2 separate regions of the Homo sapiens genome follow, and region 1 is linked to region 2. The links are contacts of gene promoters, found by promoter capture Hi-C in blood cells and fetal thymus (Javierre and others, 2016). All regions are on one chromosome and are shown on one strand. Each heading gives the region's core, a stretch centred on a gene start or on the middle of the fragment in contact. The rest is flanking DNA. Distances are from core to core; before and after follow the strand shown. Region 1 has its middle 7.6 kb from the start of S100A12. Region 2 holds the start of CRTC2 (CREB regulated transcription coactivator 2).

Region 1 (6,145 bases), core at 1,269-3,768, 590 kb after region 2:
TAAGTCTGTTGGCTTGACTCTCTATAACTGGCCCCAGGGAAAATATGAAGAAGCATGGCCTCAGGGACAGCTGTTGGGCCCTGGTGAAAAGTGCAATTCAATCTGATCAGCGGAAGTCACTGGAAACCTCCCTGTCCTCCAACCCCTGACTCCTCCAACCAACCACTAAAGTTAGGTCTGGCACTGATGGGGAGCATGAAATCAGAAGTCAGCCCCAGTCCCTGTTTAGTGGGAACATCAAGATACACACAGAAGAGGCAGCAGGGGCAGAGCCTTGGGCTCTGGTAGACCCTCCCGTGGCTGCTCCCTCTGTAGCGGGATATTTTAAAAAATAAGAGAGACCAATGGGGTTGAGGAGGATATTTATTAATTATTTAGGTGAACCGGTCCAGTTGGATTAACATTCAAAGGACTGAGCCCTGAACTATGAAATCAGCAGAAGTCACTGGAAAGTCATTTCCACCTTCAAAATGTATTGATAATCTGACCACCCCTTGTCACCACCATTATCACCACCCTAGTCCAGCCCCATTCCATTTCTGAAATGATCTAGGGCTTCAGGGTCCAATATGGTTGCCACGATCTATACATGACTACTGAGGACTTGAAACATGGTCATATGTGTGAGATGTACTAGAACTGTAATACACTGGATTTCAATTAATTGAGACATGCGTTACATCATTTCTTACTTTTCAAGGAAAAACACGTTTTATGACTTGAGTTTATTTGTCTAGTGACCTTGCAGCTGCATAGCTAGAGAAACAGGTCTTCATAATGCCTGGGAAAGGAGGAAAGATAAGGCTCACTAGCTACAGAAAAACAGGCAGTTAATTTTTAAAGGACTCCAGCTCTTTCTCCTTCTCAGGGGGAATTGGGTTTTCTTACATACAACTGAGTTTCTGCTTACACATTCTTTAATTTCTTTTAATTCCTGTTCCACCTCTGGATCTTCTTCAGCAGCAGGGGCAGGCCAGGTGGCAAAATTGAAGAATTTTAGAAAGGTTAGATACCCTGCTGGAGGTCAGGCAAGACAGATGTGAGGAAAAGTGGGAAAGGGGGCTTTTTACTGCAGGAGAGTGGGTTTGACTTTCGGCTTATTTACTGTGAAGCCATGTGGAGACAGTGTATGGGAAGCTGGGATTCAGGACAAGTGACAAATGATGAGTCCTGGGCACATGGTCTTGGGGTGAAGCTTTGCTGACCACCCCCATCAAAGGAAACAATTGCAGTTGTGTGGAAAGTGTGCGAGAAAGTAGAAGCCTGTAGATGGGGTTGAGGGGAGAGCCTGAAGATGGGGGTGAAGTGGGATTGGCAGAAAAGGAAGGAATGTGTGACCCAGGGAAGGGAGTCCTGGAATGGCCCAAGCCTGGAAGGCTTCTATCACCAAATGTGAATGAGAATGTGAGAGCATTTGGGGAAAGCCTTCCCTCACTGCATGACCTTGGCCAAATCACTTTGCCTCTCTGGGTCTGTGTTTTCTTTATTTTTGAAGAATTCAAAGGAATTTTAAACATCTATTTTGGAAAGTTTTAGACTAGGTGAATACTCAGGTGTCACCCAGTGTTAGTGCTCTGAGAGACCTCAGTTGGATAGAGGGGAACTTGGTGCAGGGTCTAGAAGGAGAACATCACTTAGTGAGAGGGTAGGAAGGAGGATGTCCCTTGGTGCTAAAGAGTAGCAGTCGAGAGTGTGAGGCTAGAAGTTATGCTTCTGTATTCAAATCCTAGCATTGCCACTTACTAACTGTGAGACCTTGAACAAGTTACTTAGAATCTTTAAACCTCAATTTCCCCATCAGTAGCATGGGGATAACCACAGCACCCCTCTCCCAGAGTTGGTGAGAGGATTAGGTCATCTCCTTTTTTTCCTTTTTTTATTTTTTTATTTTTTGAGATGGAGTCTTGCTCTGTCTCCCAGGCTGGAGTGCAGTGGCGCGATCTTGGCTCACTGCAAGCTCCGCCTCCCGGATTCACGCCATTCTCCTGTCTCAGCCTCCCGAGTAGATGGGTTTACAGGTGCCCGCCACCACACCAGGCTAATTTTTTTGTATTTTTAGTAGAGACGGGGTTTCACCGCGTTAGCCAGGATGGTCTCGATCTCCTGACCTCGTGATCTGCCTGCCTCGGCCTCCCAAAGTGCTGGGATTACAAGCGTAAGCCATGCGACTGGCCAAGATTAGGTCATCTCATAGCACATGGAAAGCACTTGGCACAGTATCTGATGCAGAGTAAGCACTCAACAAACATTAGCAATAACAGTAAGATAATAATTTAGACAGGAGGTAACGATTGTAGCTGACCCACCCTCTGCCACAGCACAATAGGTATAGATTATTTTAAACCAAAGCAGACTGAGGTTATATTTAGGGGTGGCTTGGATAGTTAAAGTTGACCAGTGTAAGATAAGGAACCAAGGGAAGTTATGCAATATCTTCCTCTAAAGGCCTTTGAACTAGACCAAGCTGTTCTGCAAACTAGGCCACTCCCTTGATGCACTTACCTTGATTTGGGACCACTTCTGATATATATAGTAGTATTAGAATCTGTTAAAAAAAAAAACAACAAAAAAACCAACAACTAACCGATGAGAGCAAAAGTCCAGCACATTTGCTATTGTGAAAACATTCACCAGCTGTAATTTTGTTTCCAAATAGCCCACTGAACCACAAATTGAACTTAAATCATGGCTAGAAAAATTTTAAGGGCTGCTAACCTTGGTCAAAATCCATCAGTCAGCGGCACCTAAGGACAATGACAAGGGCCCTTGACTTGGAATCAAATGAGCTTGGTTAGACTCCCAGCTCAACTGCTTGGCTCTGTGAGTTTGGGCGAATGGCTTCCCTTCTCTGAGCCTCAGTTTTTTCATGTATATAGTGTGCTGTTTGCACAAGTGATCTCCAGTCCCTTCATGAATACACAGAGACTAGACCCTGTGACTGTGGCTGGTGTCGTGGAACAAGCAAATGAACACAAGCACTGTTAGATCCACAGAGCCCAGGGATTGGCCCTGTTGCTTCTGGAGGCCCTGTCTCACTGTCACCATCTGTCCACCCCCAGAGGCCCTATTCTCCAGCCACTCTAGAACAGTCTCTAGTTTCTCCACGGCTTTGAAACTTCTTGGGTTTTGCTCCTGCTGTCCTCTTGTTCTCTTTGTCTGAAGTGCCTTTTCATCCCTTCATTCACAAACATTTTTTTGTGTCTGCTCTGTTGCAGACACTAGGCTACCTGGGCCCTTCTCTGGCTCTAGAACACCTGCTTATACACCATGGCCTGACTCAACCGTCACATCCTCCAGGGAGCTCACCTGTTCATATCTTCCTCATGTATTTCCATCAAGAGTAGACTTTAGGCCCCTTCCAATTTGGGGCTGACCTCCCTCTTCTGCTCACTGGCTGCTGCTGGAATGATGAGCCTGACAAAGCTGTCTGGGCAAAGGCATTACTGAGTGATAAAGGACACCAATAACACTCTTTTGGGTGCTATATGTGCAATACTTTGCCCTCAGGAGGATATTTCAGGCAGGCTTCCAGTACACCACAAGCCAAGCCATGCCAGCCTGTGCATCAGGCTCTTGGAGCTCAGGAGAAGGATCTGGGCTCAACAAAATGACTATCAGAAGCCCCTGATGTGAGAATGGCTAGGTCTCATCATTTTGACTTGGCCAACACAAGAAGCCTTTCAAGTTTTAAGATAAAGCAAACTAAAAATCTGGAGGGCAAGAGCCCTTACTTCCTATGTTTCTCTGATTTCTTTTATTGCCTAACACAGCACTGGGCACATGGAAGTGCAATTCTTGCCCTCTGAAAACTCAGCTTGGGCATTAGTCCAAGCAAGCTTTCCTTCTCTCTCCTTCCCTCTACCCCTGCCCCCCGGCTCCCCTCTACCCCCTCCCCCACACCACAGCCAATAAGACGGCAAAAAGTGCCTTCTGTACTCTCTGGGCATCTTGTGCTTATCATCTGCCTTTGCTTGTCTTTTGCCCACAACATTGTATTATAGAGAAAATATCTGGTAATTGTGCCCCCACTGGACTGAGGGCTCTGTGAAGGCAGGGAATCTAGCACACTATTTGACATAAGACCAGGCTCATCAGCCTCCTAACTGGTCCTCATGCTTCTACTCTGGGGTTCTCCAGGCTACCCTCCACACAGCTGCCGAATATTCTCCTCCAGATACATCATATCACATCACCTGCCTGATTAAAACCCTCCAAAGGCTCTCCAATGTGTTTGGGGTGAAATCTTCGTTGAGATGGCTTCTTGTCATCCAGGCCTCATTTCCAGTGTTGCTTCCTTGCCTGGCTGCCGGCCCACAAAGCAGTCCTGTTAGCATGTCCCCTTTATTTTCTTTGTGCAACTCATCACCATCTAAAATGATCTGGGCTATCTATTTCTTGACTTGCCTCTTGTCTGACTCTCCCCTAGACGCAGTTTTGTTGACCCAGCACCTATAACAGTGCTCTGCATTTAGTTCTCACTCAATGAGTATTTGCAGACTGAATAGCTGATGAATGTTGGCTTCTTTGCATGGAGCTGTTTCCTACCAGAGGGAATGAACACCTGGAGTAGAATGCGAGGGCGATGCTTGAGGCAGTGCTGGGAGAGTGGGAGGGCCTGGCAGCAAATGAGCCACACCACAGCGGGTTTGGAGGCCTTGCCCCCGGGGGTGGGCTCCTCTCCCTGGACCCTGGTGATATTTGAAGGCAGCTGTCATGGCTCCCTTGCTTACCTTTTCCAGACTTGATTCCCCAAGACCTTCAACAATTTTCCCTTGTGATTGTCTCCTTTCATTATGAGGAGTAGACTCGAAACTGGGACATCTTGTGTTTTGAGGGAGCCATTTCTGGTTAGATATGACCCGTAGTTACTTCACAAAGGTTAGATATGACCCCTAGTTGCTTCCCTGAAAGCACTCAGCCACATAGAACTGCATTTTACCACAGAGGACAGGAGGGCAGAAGGCAGTAAGTGAGAAAAAGCTCAGGGAGAGGATGTAGAAAAGGTAAAGAGAGAAAGAGAGGGGGCAAATCAAGAGGGAAAAGGTTGGGGGAGAGGCAGGGGAGAGGAGGGAGGATCAGACTCCAAGTCAAGGCGGGGGATGCTGAAGGTGCGGGCTGCATGCTGGAATCCTGCTGCCCCTGCCGCCCCTGCTGGTGGCCACCCTCCTCTTCCTCTTCACCTCGGGTCTTGGCAACAAACCCCTTCCTCACTGTACAGTCTGCATGCAGCAATTTTGGGTACGTGGGCAAGAGTGGGAGAACTCATGCAGAAAAGGAAAGCCTAGATGTAGTTGTTTTGAGCCAGCACCAATAGCGGTGCTCTGTGTTTAGTTGGGACTCTGCATTCCGTGGGACACTCAGGATGGAGGCCAGCTGGCTGTCGCTCAGGGGCTCCCTTTCCCTGTCTCCTGTGTCTGGGAGTGGATCTCTGAAGACAGGGGTGATCTAATCATCCAGGGACTGATTGTCGTCTTAGGATAGAGAAACTGTTTCAGGTCAGAGCCCCAAGGGGCAATAGGACTTGAGAAACCAGTTGTTTCAGTCCTGCTGTCACTTTGGTAATTGGAGTGTCAAAATCCATGACACGGGGCTTTCTAAAATATATGTTTTAAGCAACTGCCGGAAGAGGGGGCAGTGCATTGGGGTTGGATTATGGAGCTTACTTCAGGGCAGGGCTGCATCAGGGTTGTGTAAGGTTGGCTCACCGGGCTGGTGAAAGCTGAGATCTTCCTTCCTGGAAAGGTCTTGGCAAACAGCATGAAATGATCTTATTTATCATGTTGCAGTCACACCTCTCCTAATTGAGGTGAAGCTTGGGGTAGTTTGAGGCTCTAGCTTTACTTTTTCTGAGAAGCACCGCTTGGACTCTTAAGTGCTCACCTGGGCTCTTGCAACAGACTCCCCACAGGCCATGTGCCTGGGGTCTCATTCCCACCCCAAACCCATCCCATAAAACACAGATAGAGAAACTTCTATGAAATGCAAATGTGATTATATCATTGCCCTCCCTGAAGCCTTCGGGGCTCTGCCCCTGTTCTGCTGAATGGAGTGTGAGTTCCTTGGCCTGGTACCTATCCTGTTCTCATCTGTCTCTCTTACCTCTCCCTGCCACGCCCCCAGTGCTCCTCATTCGCCCTCAAACCCC
Region 2 (5,783 bases), core at 3,233-5,732:
GGCCTCTACATTCCTTAGGGGAACTCCAGCTCCAGGTCCTATTTGGAGGCGGCTCCTAGTTTCCTAGTTTTCTGGGGGCACCAGGTGAAAGGGTGATGAGATATCCATACAGCCTTTCTCATGCCTCGGTTTCCCCCGTGCAGTCTCCCTGAATAAGTCACTTGGGAAAGAAAGTGTGAGAAGAGAGGAATGTTCCTGGTACAGGAGTAGATGAGTCACCCTGGGTAGGGGAAGGTCACAAAGTGGCTGGGGCCAGGGAGCTGCACTCTGCTGACCAAGCTTCCCCATTCCTTGCCCCATCTTCCTTTGCATGATTTTTCCCAACCACTCTGGTCTGTCTTCCTAGGTCTGAGAGTCACTGGAGCTACCAGAAGCATCATGGGGCCCTGGGGAGAGCCAGAGCTCCTGGTGTGGCGCCCCGAGGCGGTAGCTTCAGAGCCTCCAGTGCCTGTGGGGCTGGAGGTGAAGTTGGGGGCCCTGGTGCTGCTGCTGGTGCTCACCCTCCTCTGCAGCCTGGTGCCCATCTGTGTGCTGCGCCGGCCAGGAGCTAACCATGAAGGCTCAGGTAAGCCTCTCCTTTTCCCCACACTGCTATGAATGCTTGGCTTAGGGAGGGCTCTGGGGCTGGCGGGGAGTGACCAAAGGAGGAGGGAAAGGCAAGGGTAGCCATTGTTTGGGTTGGGGTGGTCGGCCCTGGAGGGGGTTTGTTTGCTTATTCCCCTCTGTGCTTCACCCCTACCCAGCTTCCCGCCAGAAAGCCCTGAGCCTAGTAAGCTGTTTCGCGGGGGGCGTCTTTTTGGCCACTTGTCTCCTGGACCTGCTGCCTGACTACCTGGCTGCCATAGATGAGGCCCTGGCAGCCTTGCACGTGACGGTGAGCACTGGCCTGGGCATGTGACTTGCGGGAGGGGAATCACACACCTCTGGGAGTGTTGGTTTGTGGAGATTGATTCATGTGCCACTCCATGACTGTGTGGAAGACTTTTGGCATGTGGTATGAATTGTGATTTTTGGTTATGGGGCATAATTCTTTCTATGTGTTCCCTCCCCCTTCCCCATTCCCTGTGTGACCCCTACATTCCCGTTGAGACAGTAAGACACTTTTTCTCAGGTGTGTGACTTGCTCTATGGGTTCTCAGTTCTAGCTACCAGCAAGTGCTCCAAGAATCATCTTCACTCTCTCACCACTTTCCTAAAGGGCTGGAGATAGAGGTCTCTGTAGGCCTGAGAAGGATAGGAAGCGATTCCCTGGGTCTTGGTGTTGCTAACCTTTTTAGGCTTTGGCCCAAGGAAGTGGGCTGTGAGGAATGATCAAGTCCACGGCATAGGACTTGGTTTATTATAGGAAAAACTGAGGCCGTTGGATAGTGGGGCAGGAAAGTCATCCTGGGCTCTTTCCTTTTTTCCTCTAAAACTGAGGAAGTAACACTGGATGTATCCCTTTGTGTGTCTGTGACTGAGTGACCTGTGTTTCCGTGTGACTGCGTATAAGCCTGAATGTCCTGTGATATGTGGCTCTATGTATGAGTATTTGGGGAGATGGGCAATGTGTGACCTTTTCATGTATGTCTACATCAGTGACTCTCAACTAGGAGTGTGGCTTTGCCCCTCAGGAAACATTTGGTAATGTCTGGGGATATTTTTAGTTGTCACAATGGGGAGGGGGATGGAGGGAACATTGTGCCTGCTATTGGCATCTGGTAAGTAGAGATCAGAAATGCTGTTAAACAATCTACAGTGCACAAGACAGCTCCCATGACAAAGAATTATCTGGCCCAAAATGTTTTTGTTTGTTTGTTTTTGTTTTGTTTTGTTTTTGAGAAAGAGTCTTGCTCTGTTGCCCAGGCTGGAGTGCAGTGGCACAATCTCGACTCACTGCAATCTCTGGCTCCTGGGTTCAAGTGATTCTCCTGGCTCAGACTCCTGAGTAGCTGGGATTACAGGCATCCACCACCACACCCTGCCAATTTTTGTATTTTTAGTAGAGACAGGGTTTCACCATGTTGGCCAGGCTGGTCTCAAACTCCTGACCTCAAGTGATCTTCCCACTTTGGTCTTCCAAAGTGCTGGGATTATAGGCATGAGCCACTGCCCCTGGCCCCAAAATGTTAATAGTTCCAAAGCTGAGAAACTTTGGTCTACACGTAACACTGTGAGTGACACCATAATCTGTGTGTACGTATCATTCTGTGTCAGTGTTACCAATTCACTCTATCTTTGTGTGACTGAGAGTAGCCCTGTGTCTGTGTCAGACCCTAGGTCTGTGTAACTGGGCTTTCACCAGATTTTGCATCTCACTCTTCCTTCCCTGAACATTTTGCTGCTGCTTCTGCCCACAGCTCCAGTTCCCACTGCAAGAGTTCATCCTGGCCATGGGCTTCTTCCTGGTCCTGGTGATGGAGCAGATCACACTGGCTTACAAGGAGCAGTCAGGGCCGTCACCTCTGGAGGAAACAAGGGCTCTGCTGGGAACAGTGAATGGTGGGCCGCAGCATTGGCATGATGGGCCAGGGGTCCCACAGGCGAGTGGAGCCCCAGCAACCCCCTCAGCCTTGCGTGCCTGTGTACTGGTGTTCTCCCTGGCCCTCCACTCCGTGTTCGAGGGGCTGGCGGTAGGGCTGCAGCGAGACCGGGCTCGGGCCATGGAGCTGTGCCTGGCTTTGCTGCTCCACAAGGGCATCCTGGCTGTCAGCCTGTCCCTGCGGCTGTTGCAGAGCCACCTTAGGGCACAGGTGGTGGCTGGCTGTGGGATCCTCTTCTCATGCATGACACCTCTAGGCATCGGGCTGGGTGCAGCTCTGGCAGAGTCGGCAGGACCTCTGCACCAGCTGGCCCAGTCTGTGCTAGAGGGCATGGCAGCTGGCACCTTTCTCTATATCACCTTTCTGGAAATCCTGCCCCAGGAGCTGGCCAGTTCTGAGCAAAGGATCCTCAAGGTCATTCTGCTCCTAGCAGGCTTTGCCCTGCTCACTGGCCTGCTCTTCATCCAAATCTAGGGGGCTTCAAGAGAGGGGCAGGGGAGATTGATGATCAGGTGCCCCTGTTCTCCCTTCCCTCCCCCAGTTGTGGGGAATAGGAAGGAAAGGGGAAGGGAAATACTGAGGACCAAAAAGTTCTCTGGGAGCTAAAGATAGAGCCTTTGGGGCTATCTGACTAATGAGAGGGAAGTGGGCAGACAAGAGGCTGGCCCCAGTCCCAAGGAACAAGAGATGGTCAAGTCGCTAGAGACATATCAGGGGACATTAGGATTGGGGAAGACACTTGACTGCTAGAATCAGAGGTTGGACACTATACATAAGGACAGGCTCACATGGGAGGCTGGAGGTGGGTACCCAGCTGCTGTGGAACGGGTATGGACAGGTCATAAACCTAGAGTCAGTGTCCTGTTGGTCCTAGCCCATTTCAGCACCCTGCCACTTGGAGTGGACCCCTCCTACTCTTCTTAGCGCCTACCCTCATACCTATCTCCCTCCTCCCATCTCCTAGGGGACTGGCGCCAAATGGTCTCTCCCTGCCAATTTTGGTATCTTCTCTGGCCTCTCCAGTCCTGCTTACTCCTCTATTTTTAAAGTGCCAAACAAATCCCCTTCCTCTTTCTCAAAGCACAGTAATGTGGCACTGAGCCCTACCCAGCACCTCAGTGAAGGGGGCCTGCTTGCTCTTTATTTTGGTCCCGGATCCTGGGGTGGGGCAGAAATATTTTCTGGGCTGGGGTAGGAGGAAGGTTGTTGCAGCCATCTACTGCTGCTGTACCCTAGGAATATGGGGACATGGACATGGTGTCCCATGCCCAGATGATAAACACTGAGCTGCCAAAACATTTTTTTAAATACACCCGAGGAGCCCAAGGGGGAAGGGCAATGCCTACCCCCAGCGTTATTTTTGGGGAGGGAGGGCTGTGCATAGGGACATATTCTTTAGAATCTATTTTATTAACTGACCTGTTTTGGGACCTGTTACCCAAATAAAAGATGTTTCTAGACATCTGTACAGTATCTGATTCGTTTGTTTTGGGAAAGGGGTGGGCATGTGGCCAGCCTGAGAGGGCCTGAGTCCCAGATGTTTACAGCTGTTTTAAGATTCTTGGTCTCACTGTTTTCACTCAGGACCCGATAGTCCCCTTCCCTGAAGATGACCTAATTTTTCCTCCTTTGTGTCTTGGTACTTCTTTCCCGGTCTCCACCCCTCGGCTTCCCTTCTCTTCCCTCCCCTCCCTCTTCCTTTCTTCTCTCTTCAATCCCTCTCTCCTTTCCGTTCGTAGTCTCAGGGCTAATTTAGAACTACTCTTCCCAGCTTGCACCTCTCAGGGAGTAGCCGAGAGGGTGGAGCCAAGTCCCCAGTTTCCGGAGTCAGCAGGGCTGCTGGGAAGTGGAGTCCGTTTCCTCCTAGTGCTGCGTGACTGGGGATGTGAAGGAGTCTCGTAAACAAACTACAATTCCCGGCGGCCCCCGCGCGCAACAGGTCAGGGCTAGGCTGGGGCCGGGTTCGCGGTGCTCGCTGAGGCGGCGGTGGCTACGGCTGGAGGAGCCGGGCCGAGGCCGCGGCGGAGGCCGCGGCTGGTACTGGGAGGGTGGCAGGGAGGGACGGGGAAGGAAGATGGCGACGTCGGGGGCGAACGGGCCTGGTTCGGCCACGGCCTCGGCTTCCAATCCGCGCAAATTTAGTGAGAAGATTGCGCTGCAGAAGCAGCGTCAGGCCGAGGAGACGGCGGCCTTCGAGGAGGTGATGATGGACATCGGCTCCACCCGGGTGAGGGGCCGCGCCGGGGAGCCGGAGCAGAGCTGAGCAGTTACGGAGCGGAGACCGGAGAGGCGGGGCGGGGGCGGGCGCCGCAGCGAAGGAGGCGGAACAGAGCAGGGGACGCGGGCGCCGCCGTTTGGGAGGCGCAGGTTGAGGGCCGAGGGGCAGGAAGAAGGATTTTGCCGGGGGAGACCGAAACACCGGAGAGGTTCGGGGTGTAGAGGCGACTGGGGGCCGAGTACGTGAGGTGGGAGTGGGCGGAGAGGGGAGATGAAGTCCGGCGGAGGTAGGAGGTGAGTGGTCCTTGTGCATCCCTGACGGAGTCCCCTCGAGGACGCTACTGAAGCATGCCTGGTATTGGGGTATGGCCTGGGAGGAGGGCTGCTTGTCTGTAACCTGGCTCCTCTGAGTTTGTGATCTCCTCCAAACTGGTCCCTCTGCCTTCTGCGCTTTGGTGCCCCCGGGAAAGGGCCCCTTGAGTGGTTTGAACGAGCGGTGCTGTGTATAGTGGGGCAGGAAGTCCCCTCCTGCGTCCCGTCCTTTTGCTTCCTTTTTCAAATACTTCTTGTGGTTTCCTGACGTGAATGAAGGTGAGGTCCATTGCTTGGTGTTTTGTCCTGGCCTCCTTGGAGGAGAGGTAGGGTTTTGAATCCGACAACTGGGTAACCGTCCGACCATAAGTTGTGTGGAACTCTATGGTTTGCTGAGCTTTCTAGGGAGTTGGCTGCTTTGTGGGTTAGTGTGTAGGGTGCCTTGGAGGGTCTTCTATGTGTTGAGAATATTCATTCCTAGGAGTTCTTGAAAGAACTTTCAGGCCTCTGCCAGGCTGCCTCTGAAGCCCCCCTGGCTTGGTTTCTTGCTTTCCAAGGCTGGAGGTCAGAGGGACCAAGGGGTAGGAGTCCGCCTAGGTGGTATGCAGTCTTAATTTAGGGACACATTCTTCTAAAACAACAGTAGGTAAGGATATTGCAATGATTCCTCATGGCAGAGAGCTAGAAGGAATTTAAGGATTGATGGTGGAACATTACTACAACATCTCTAGC

Evidence for each region. Contacts are between HindIII fragments. The CHiCAGO score rates a contact against its expected background, and 5 or more counts as called.
Region 1: a fragment that was not itself captured here is called in contact with the fragment with the promoter of CRTC2 in region 2 in 1 of 17 cell types (neutrophils); the score reaches 5.3 in neutrophils.

Annotation. Positions count from the first base shown.
Region 1 is chr1:153,364,943-153,371,087 of GRCh38, reverse strand. No RefSeq gene overlaps it. Among named protein-coding and RNA genes, the nearest start is that of S100A12, 7.6 kb to the left of the region's middle. The HindIII fragment of the contact is 2,641 bases long and covers 1,198-3,838 here.
Region 2 is chr1:153,957,311-153,963,093 of GRCh38, reverse strand. It overlaps CRTC2 (CREB regulated transcription coactivator 2), which reads left to right and starts at 4,482. Exons shown (of 14, transcript NM_181715.3): 1 at 4,482-4,749. The coding sequence starts at 4,597. SLC39A1 (solute carrier family 39 member 1) reads left to right here. Exons shown (of 4, transcript NM_001271958.2): 2 at 347-565; 3 at 744-874; 4 at 2,340-3,984. The coding sequence starts at 379. The coding sequence ends at 2,996. It overlaps MIR6737 (microRNA 6737), which reads left to right and starts at 674; the gene lies at 674-743. RefSeq lists enhancers at 1-273, 4,253-4,452, 5,013-5,062, 5,073-5,292, 5,353-5,402 and a silencer at 4,703-4,852. The HindIII fragment of the contact is 11,751 bases long and covers 282-5,783 here.